Regions from separate parts of the Homo sapiens genome. Here region 1 is linked to region 2. Evidence: promoter capture Hi-C in 16 types of primary human blood cells and fetal thymus (Javierre and others, 2016). All regions are on one chromosome and are shown on one strand. The core of a region is centred on a gene start or on the middle of the fragment in contact, and the rest is flanking DNA. Distances in the headings are between cores, read along the strand shown. Region 1 holds the start of BEND4 (BEN domain containing 4). Region 2 overlaps GUF1 (GTP binding elongation factor GUF1).

Region 1 (3,577 bases), core at 351-2,850, 2.5 Mb after region 2:
ATTCAGAACTGCTTTATAGAAAGGAAAGTGTGGGGAGGTTTGTTATCATTTATTTCCTCCAGTATATCATTCAATTTCAGCTGTCTCACGTCTCAGAAGTAGCTCCCCCATTTCTCACTTACGTGCCTAAGAAACATCTCCCTGGCATCTCATTCTCTTTCTCTTTCACCAGCATTTCATTATTTCTTAACTGTCCCTCTCATGCTTGTCTCCTTTTCCTAGTGATCCACGTGTCCTCATTTAGCAGTTTTCAGAAGCCAGGGAGAAACATTGCAAATAATGTTAAATATGATTAATATCTTGAATTCCTTGAAATATGACATGCATGAGTTACAATGAAACCTCTTTTATTTCCCCATGAAATGCTTTTGCATAATGAGAAAGAAAATGTCCTCTATGCCCTAATCAGCCCTGACAGTTCCTGGACTCCCAAATACTTATATTTATGGCATTATTTATTTCATCTCTAATAAATGGATTGGGGGGGGGACACAGCACCATCTGAGGAAGCTGCAGGAGAGAGGGAGACAATCTAGGGGGGAATAATACAGAAGCTGAACCAGCAAGGCAGAGAGAAAAAGCTTCCAAAGGGAAGGAGACCAGGGAAAGAGAGGCCAAAAGATGTGAACCCCCAGAAGAAAATGGGTCACCTTCCTAAGAATAAAAGGAAGGCTCTGAAAAGGAAACAAACTTCAGAGTGCAGAGATGAGGGTCCTACATCAAGGAGCATCCAGAACTCTGACCTGGAGAACGAAAAAGGAAGGCTGAAAAGCAAACCTGGGGCAGGGTATGCTGGTTGGCCTAGAAGAGGGGTGATTTGGGATAGGGAGCAATGGACCCTCTGCCCCAAAAAGTGGCTGGGAGAGACCAGGACATCTGCATCCCATGGAGGATCTTCCTCCCAACGACTGAGATCTCTCATTCAAACGGCTACTGAAATTGGGCACCCTCCAGACCCTCGCCGGATGGCGCCAGTTGCAGTGAGTAAAACAATGCAAGGAGTGAGTTCTCGTGTTTCCCTGGGCTTGCAAGTACATATACATATATTAAAAATGACACTGTTGAAAGTAATCATCACCTCAAAGGGAGGTATCAGGACATTTCCCCACTCAATTGCACAGAGGCTACTGGCTATGGGAAGTGAGGAGTTGACTTCAAATAACCTGGATGCGTCAGTGCAACACAGCCGCACACTCCCGAGTGTCTGACTTTGGGCAATTCCCTTCAACCTCTCAGAGCCTCGGTTTTCTCATCTTTATAATGGGGGGGAAATCATGGTGTCATGCACGTTCTCGGGGCCCCTACGGGAAACAAATGAAAACGTGAAAAAGTTCTACGCCTTGCGAGCTTTTATGTTCCGCATGAGCTCAGAGGCCGCGATGCTCGGGGAAAGCAGGACCCCAAAGCCCCGTAAACACCGCGCGACCACCCGGGCCAAGATCTTCAAGAGGTTCTTTTCAGAAGGATCGGAGAGCAATTCCCGATTGGTAGAAGAACTTGCTGTAATACACACGTACTCTGACGACCCCGCCCCAACGACTAGCCCCTCCTCTGTGCAACCCCGAGAGTTTGGGGTCATGCAGGGGGCGCCACGAGCTCGTTTCGGAAGCCGGACCCCGCCCGCAGCCGCAGAAGCCTCGAGTCCACATCTGGGTCTCTAAAGTCTCGCCGTAGCCAGATCCCGGATCCCCACCTTCTTCACCAGTTCCCGGGCGTCCTCCAGGTCCTCGCTTTCCCCCTTCCCCCGCTCCCCGTCGGAGGCGCGGAGCCGCCAGGCAGACCCCGCGGGCGGCTGCGGCGCCAGGCCCCGCCCCGCCCCCATTATCATTAGCAGATATTACCCTAAACACTTGCTCTTTACCTCCTTTCTCCCTCCAGGCATTGGCGAGGCAGCCTGTCAATCAGGAGCTCGGGCGGCAGCCCCCCGCGCGGGGGCTCGGCGATGCCAGCCTCAGCGACAGGCGGCGGCGGCGGCGGCCACGGCACAGACACACACCCTCCCACACGCGCGCACCAGGGCAGACCCGGCGGGCAGGCGGCGGAGGCACCCTCGGAGCCCGGCGCCCGGCGGGGAGGGGACGTGCTCCGAGGGACCGGCCCCGAGGCGCCGGATGGAGGAAGAGATGCAGCCGGCAGAGGAGGGGCCCAGCGTCCCCAAAATCTACAAGCAGCGCAGCCCCTACAGCGTCCTCAAGACGTTCCCCAGCAAGAGACCGGCGCTGGCCAAGCGCTACGAGCGACCCACCCTGGTGGAGCTGCCGCACGTGCGGGCGCCCCCGCCGCCCCCGCCGCCCTTCGCGCCGCACGCCGCCGTCTCCATCAGCAGCAGCGAGCCGCCGCCGCAGCAGTTCCAGGCGCAGAGCTCCTACCCCCCCGGGCCCGGCCGGGCCGCCGCCGCCGCTTCGTCGTCGTCGCCGTCCTGCACGCCCGCCACATCCCAGGGCCACTTGAGGACTCCGGCGCAGCCGCCGCCCGCGTCCCCCGCCGCCTCCTCGTCGTCTTCGTTCGCCGCTGTCGTCAGGTATGGCCCAGGCGCGGCGGCGGCCGCCGGCACCGGCGGCACGGGTAGCGACAGCGCCAGCCTGGAGCTCAGCGCAGGTACCAACTCTCCGCACAACTTTCCTTCCCGCCACGGCCGGGGGCAGCGGGAGGGGACCCAGGAAGGAGAAGCGGGGGGCCGCCGACACTTACCCGTGCTGGGCCGTGTCGGGATGTCGGGGCGCACCTGGGGCCTCCCCGCGCACCCGGAAACTTCGAGAGGATTCTCCAGCGCCGCCGCGCCTGGGCTTCCGACGGCGCGCGCCTAACAGGTGGCTCCGCGGCTTGGATCCCGCGCCGGGAAGCACGGCTGTGGCAGTCGGCGACCAGGATCGCTCGGGCGTGGTCCGGAGTGGGGCCAGACGCCCCCCCGGGGGATAGCGGCGGCCGCTCGGGAAGAAGCTGGAGCTTCTCGGGCCGCCCCGCTGGGACGCCCTCGTACTACTTCACTTTTTCCGTCTGCTTTTTCCCTTTCTCCTTCTTCCTCCATTTGTTTCTTCTTCTCTCCACTTCTCCTTTGCCTTCTAGTGCTTTCTTCGCCACCTCTTTGATGCACTCTCACGCTGTCGCAGTCCATGCTGGCTGGCTCTCAGTTCCGTTTTTCCTTCTGTCTTTTTTTGTGCGCCTGTGTTTCTCGGGGGCGCTCTGTCTCGCTCTGTCCCTTTTCCTTCCCACCCCTTGGTTGTGAGACTCGGGGCTCCTCCGCGTCCGCCACGCCGTGGATTTCGGGCGCGGGGAACCATCCCGCCCCTCCTTCCTGCCCCGGGAGTCGCAGGCACTCTGCTCCCACCGCCCACGTCGTCGTCCCCGCCATCCCCTCGTCCCCGTCCGTGGCACGCTGCCGCGCCGCGGGGTCCTGCCCCTCCCGAGCATCTCGGCCCGAGCCTTACAGAAACGCCTCGTGGGAGGCACCCACTCTGGGGTCCGCGACTCCTCTCCTTTATCTCGAGTCTGCGGGCGCTGCCCGGCAAAGCAGCCCACTGCCTGCCTGCAGGGAGCGAGATGGGCTGGTTGCGAGGCCACAGCCTGAGGCCTGCGC
Region 2 (3,556 bases), core at 218-2,717:
GTCTTATTCACTGCCATACTCTTAGCTGGCATATACCAAATAAGAATCTGAATGAATTTTATTAAGATTAAAATCAGAATAGTTAATTGTATTTTAATATAACATAATCCAAAATATAAAACCATATATAACTTGCTCTTTTGAAAATTAAATTAGCTTGAAAGAAAAACATTACATTGCTGTGCTGACATACTTTACACTACCATGTAGTATAGCAGTTTGGCTGTGGCTGTTTAACAAGCAGATCATCATTTCAAAGGTAAATAAAAATTCAAATTTAAAATGGTAGCAACTTTGGTATAAATAAAATCTATTGTTTCCTAGCACTACAACTAGCTTTTTATAAAATAGGTTTTTGTCAGTTCCAAGAATGATACATACAAAAGCCCTGAAATTAGTTTGAACCTGCTCTTCAAAGACAGTATTTCCACTGGGCAAACTGACACACAAGAAATACTGCAGGGAGTTTCAGAAGGCCTGTGTTTTAGTCCTGGCACATTGGCTAACTAAACCTGTGATCTTAGGAAAGTGATAAAACCTTTGAGCCTCAGTTCCTTTAACTACAGCATCGCAATAATTTCTGTATGTCCTAACAATATAAAAAGGGCTTTTGATAAGGATCAAAGGAAATAATAGTAAAAGAAGTTTGTAAAACTATAAAAAACAGCATATAATGCCAGGTTATCAAATACCATGAAATTTCACTTAGCCCAATTACTTGAGACTTTTTTCAAAGTATAATCTTTTTAGGAACGTATTTTACCTTAATACATTCATCACTTGGAATATCAAACACTTTCTCAATTTGGTTTTCAACCCTTTCAGGATCAGCATTCTTCAGATCTATCTTTAAAAAAAAAAATCCATTATGTGAAGTATAATAAAGATAAGATGTATTATGTATTAACAGTATTCGGAGGTAATTAAAAGCTTACCCACTTTAACCTAACTGACCCCTCTACAATATTTTTTCAAAAGCAGTAAAATAATCTATATATTAGCAGTATAATTTAATAACCATGATTGAAAAAGAGAAGTTAAGTAGCAGAGCTTGCAAAAAAAACTTAAGCAGTTAGCTACCCAGGGCAGCAGAAGAGATCAGTAGTAATTTATCAATTAAGCAGCATGTGAACTGATTTTAAAGGTTAAGTTAAATACAACATTAAGTCTGACAACAAGCTGTCTTACCTATGGCCTTCTTTTAAACTTAACTCCATTATCAAGAAATATAATTAAAGCAATGCAGATTTTAAAATTAAGATTCTAAATTAATTTTAAAATATGAAATGGAAGTTTATAGACAGAGCTCAGTTTAGCACTAAATTGTCATGCTTCATGTGTTGTATTGTTTCTTCCTAGATTATAAACTTCTCTTCTTTTCCTATGTATGGTTTAATCTGACAAACATGTTTCATCTGCCCTGCTTCCCTTCCCTACAGAAATGGCCCTCAGCTACCACAAGTTAATTCAGGAGAACTACCTTCTCAATTCTGTGCAAGGGTGAGTTTCAGTTGCACTTCTGTTATATACAATTCAAAGAGATAAATCCCACCAATATATTTAATAAATAGCTGGTGATCCCTCATATAATGAATAGTACAACTGACATTTAAACATTAATTGTACTTTTAGAAAGTGAAATAGCAACACTGTTGTCTCATTGTAATTACCTTATTTATAACTGGAATTACCGATAGCTGTGCTTCGAAGGCAAGAAAGAAGTTTGCTACAGTTTGGGCTTGAATTCCCTGAAAATATCAAGATACAAGATACTGAGATGACCATTCTATTATATATCACAAAACTTGTAATTTAAGACCATTCTATACATCTTCATCAAGAGATTTTGCGTTATGCTAATAATAAAATTAAACAAAATGCCATGTAGCTACCCTTCATGCTTTTCTCTCCAACTTATGTCTTTGGGGTCAATATGAAAATCGCTGATGGTAAAGCAATAATCACATCAAGTAGAGTGAGCCAACAGACAGTCTACTAAGCTTGAGATAGGAAGCCTTTAAGGAAAGGTACACGGCAGCTCAACTATGATACCTATTTTTCCATGCATCTGAATCATCCTCTGTAATAATTCCTTTCAGTTCAGAAAGCATTTATTGGAGGGCCTTTTCTGTGCCAGAAACTACATCAGGCATTGGAGAAACAAAAGATGTAACATGGACTCTCAAGGACCTCAAAGCTTATTAGAGAACACAGTCATCAAGGTAGTTTATAAAGGCCAGTACTGCCTACATAAGGTAGAGATTGACTTTCCTTGATGGGATCAGGAAAGGCTTAACGGCTTAACACAACACGGTCACCACCACCACTAAAAAAAAGTTGGGTTTTGAATGAAGAGTTTGTGAGAAACATGTAACAAAAGTTTATATTCACAGCTCTTACATGGTCATCTGCTGAGTGTCTTTACGGCTTACACAACAAAAGAGCTTAGTAATGTTACTGATTTTTTAAAAACCTAATACTTCCAAATTATTGCCTTAAAATCACCTAAAATGATCTGAAAACTAATGATTTATTCTTAAGATCTGCTAAAAATGGATATAGAAACCTCAGATTAAGAACTGCTAAAGTTGGTGGGGTTTTTTTGGTAAGATGCATTGACAATATGATGTCACACTTCAAAAAAATACAACAATCTTTTGAACAATTCCAATTTAAAAACTAGTCAATTCCAGAGAATGCTTTATTGTAATAATATTTCAGATTAACAGGATGAAACCATATGATTTTCAGTAAGTAACAGATTAAATCTATTTTTCAAACACAAAAATTCTATTTCCAAAACACATTTTAAAGAAAAACTCTTGAAACAACCAAATAGTCATGTCATATCACATCATACAAAATGAAAAATACCTACCTCATTTGCATCAACCACAAGTAAAACACCCTGGCAAGCAGAAAGTGACCTGGATACTTCATAACTAAAATCAACATGGCCCTGAGAAACAAAAATATTGATACCTGTAAATGTGAGTTAATTTTTTAGGAAAGAGCATTATGGCAAATTTATTGACTTTACTTGATAAAAGCTGTTAAATATTCGTTTCTTTTTTGTAGCCTGCACTTTTGAAACAACTGACACTAACATAAGAACACTGAGAAAACAAAAAGCAAAGGCAGATGTTTAATACTCAGTTCAAAAATTAAACAAGGATCTGTTTGCACTACTGACACAATGTTGACTTTAACAATACATGCAAAATTAATATTAAACTTACCGGTGTATCAATGAGATTTAAAAGGTACTGCTTTCCTTCACAATTGTAAAAGAGAGATGCTGTCTGTGCTTTAACAGTGATTCCTCTTTCTCGTTCCACTTGCAATTTATCAAGAACCTGCTTATTATTCTTTGTTTTATCAATTGTCCCTATAAACAGAAACACTTATTGATATTTCTCTGGGCTTTAAAAAAAAAAGAGAATATTACTTATAAAATTAAAATTTAAGAGTAAAAGTAATTCCCAATAACTCGCAGCCATCAGTTAAGTATGTAACATAAATGAAATACCTGTAAGTTCTAGGAGCCTGTCAGCTA

Evidence for each region. Contacts are between HindIII fragments. The CHiCAGO score rates a contact against its expected background, and 5 or more counts as called.
Region 1: the fragment with the promoter of BEND4 here is called in contact with a fragment that was not itself captured in region 2 in 1 of 17 cell types (total B cells); the score reaches 8.6 in total B cells.

Annotation. Positions count from the first base shown.
Region 1 is chr4:42,150,678-42,154,254 of GRCh38, reverse strand. BEND4 (BEN domain containing 4) reads left to right here and starts at 1,600. Exons shown (of 6, transcript NM_207406.4): 1 at 1,600-1,723; 2 at 1,879-2,598. The coding sequence starts at 2,112. RefSeq lists silencers at 1,908-2,227, 2,428-2,517 and an enhancer at 2,283-3,126. The HindIII fragment of the contact is 4,164 bases long and covers 584-3,577 here.
Region 2 is chr4:44,680,526-44,684,081 of GRCh38, reverse strand. GUF1 (GTP binding elongation factor GUF1) reads right to left here. Exons shown (of 17, transcript NM_021927.3): 2 at 3,530-3,556; 3 at 3,240-3,388; 4 at 2,879-2,959; 5 at 1,671-1,748; 6 at 764-847. Among named protein-coding and RNA genes, the nearest start is that of GUF1, 3.9 kb to the right of the region's middle. The HindIII fragment of the contact is 1,070 bases long and covers 933-2,002 here.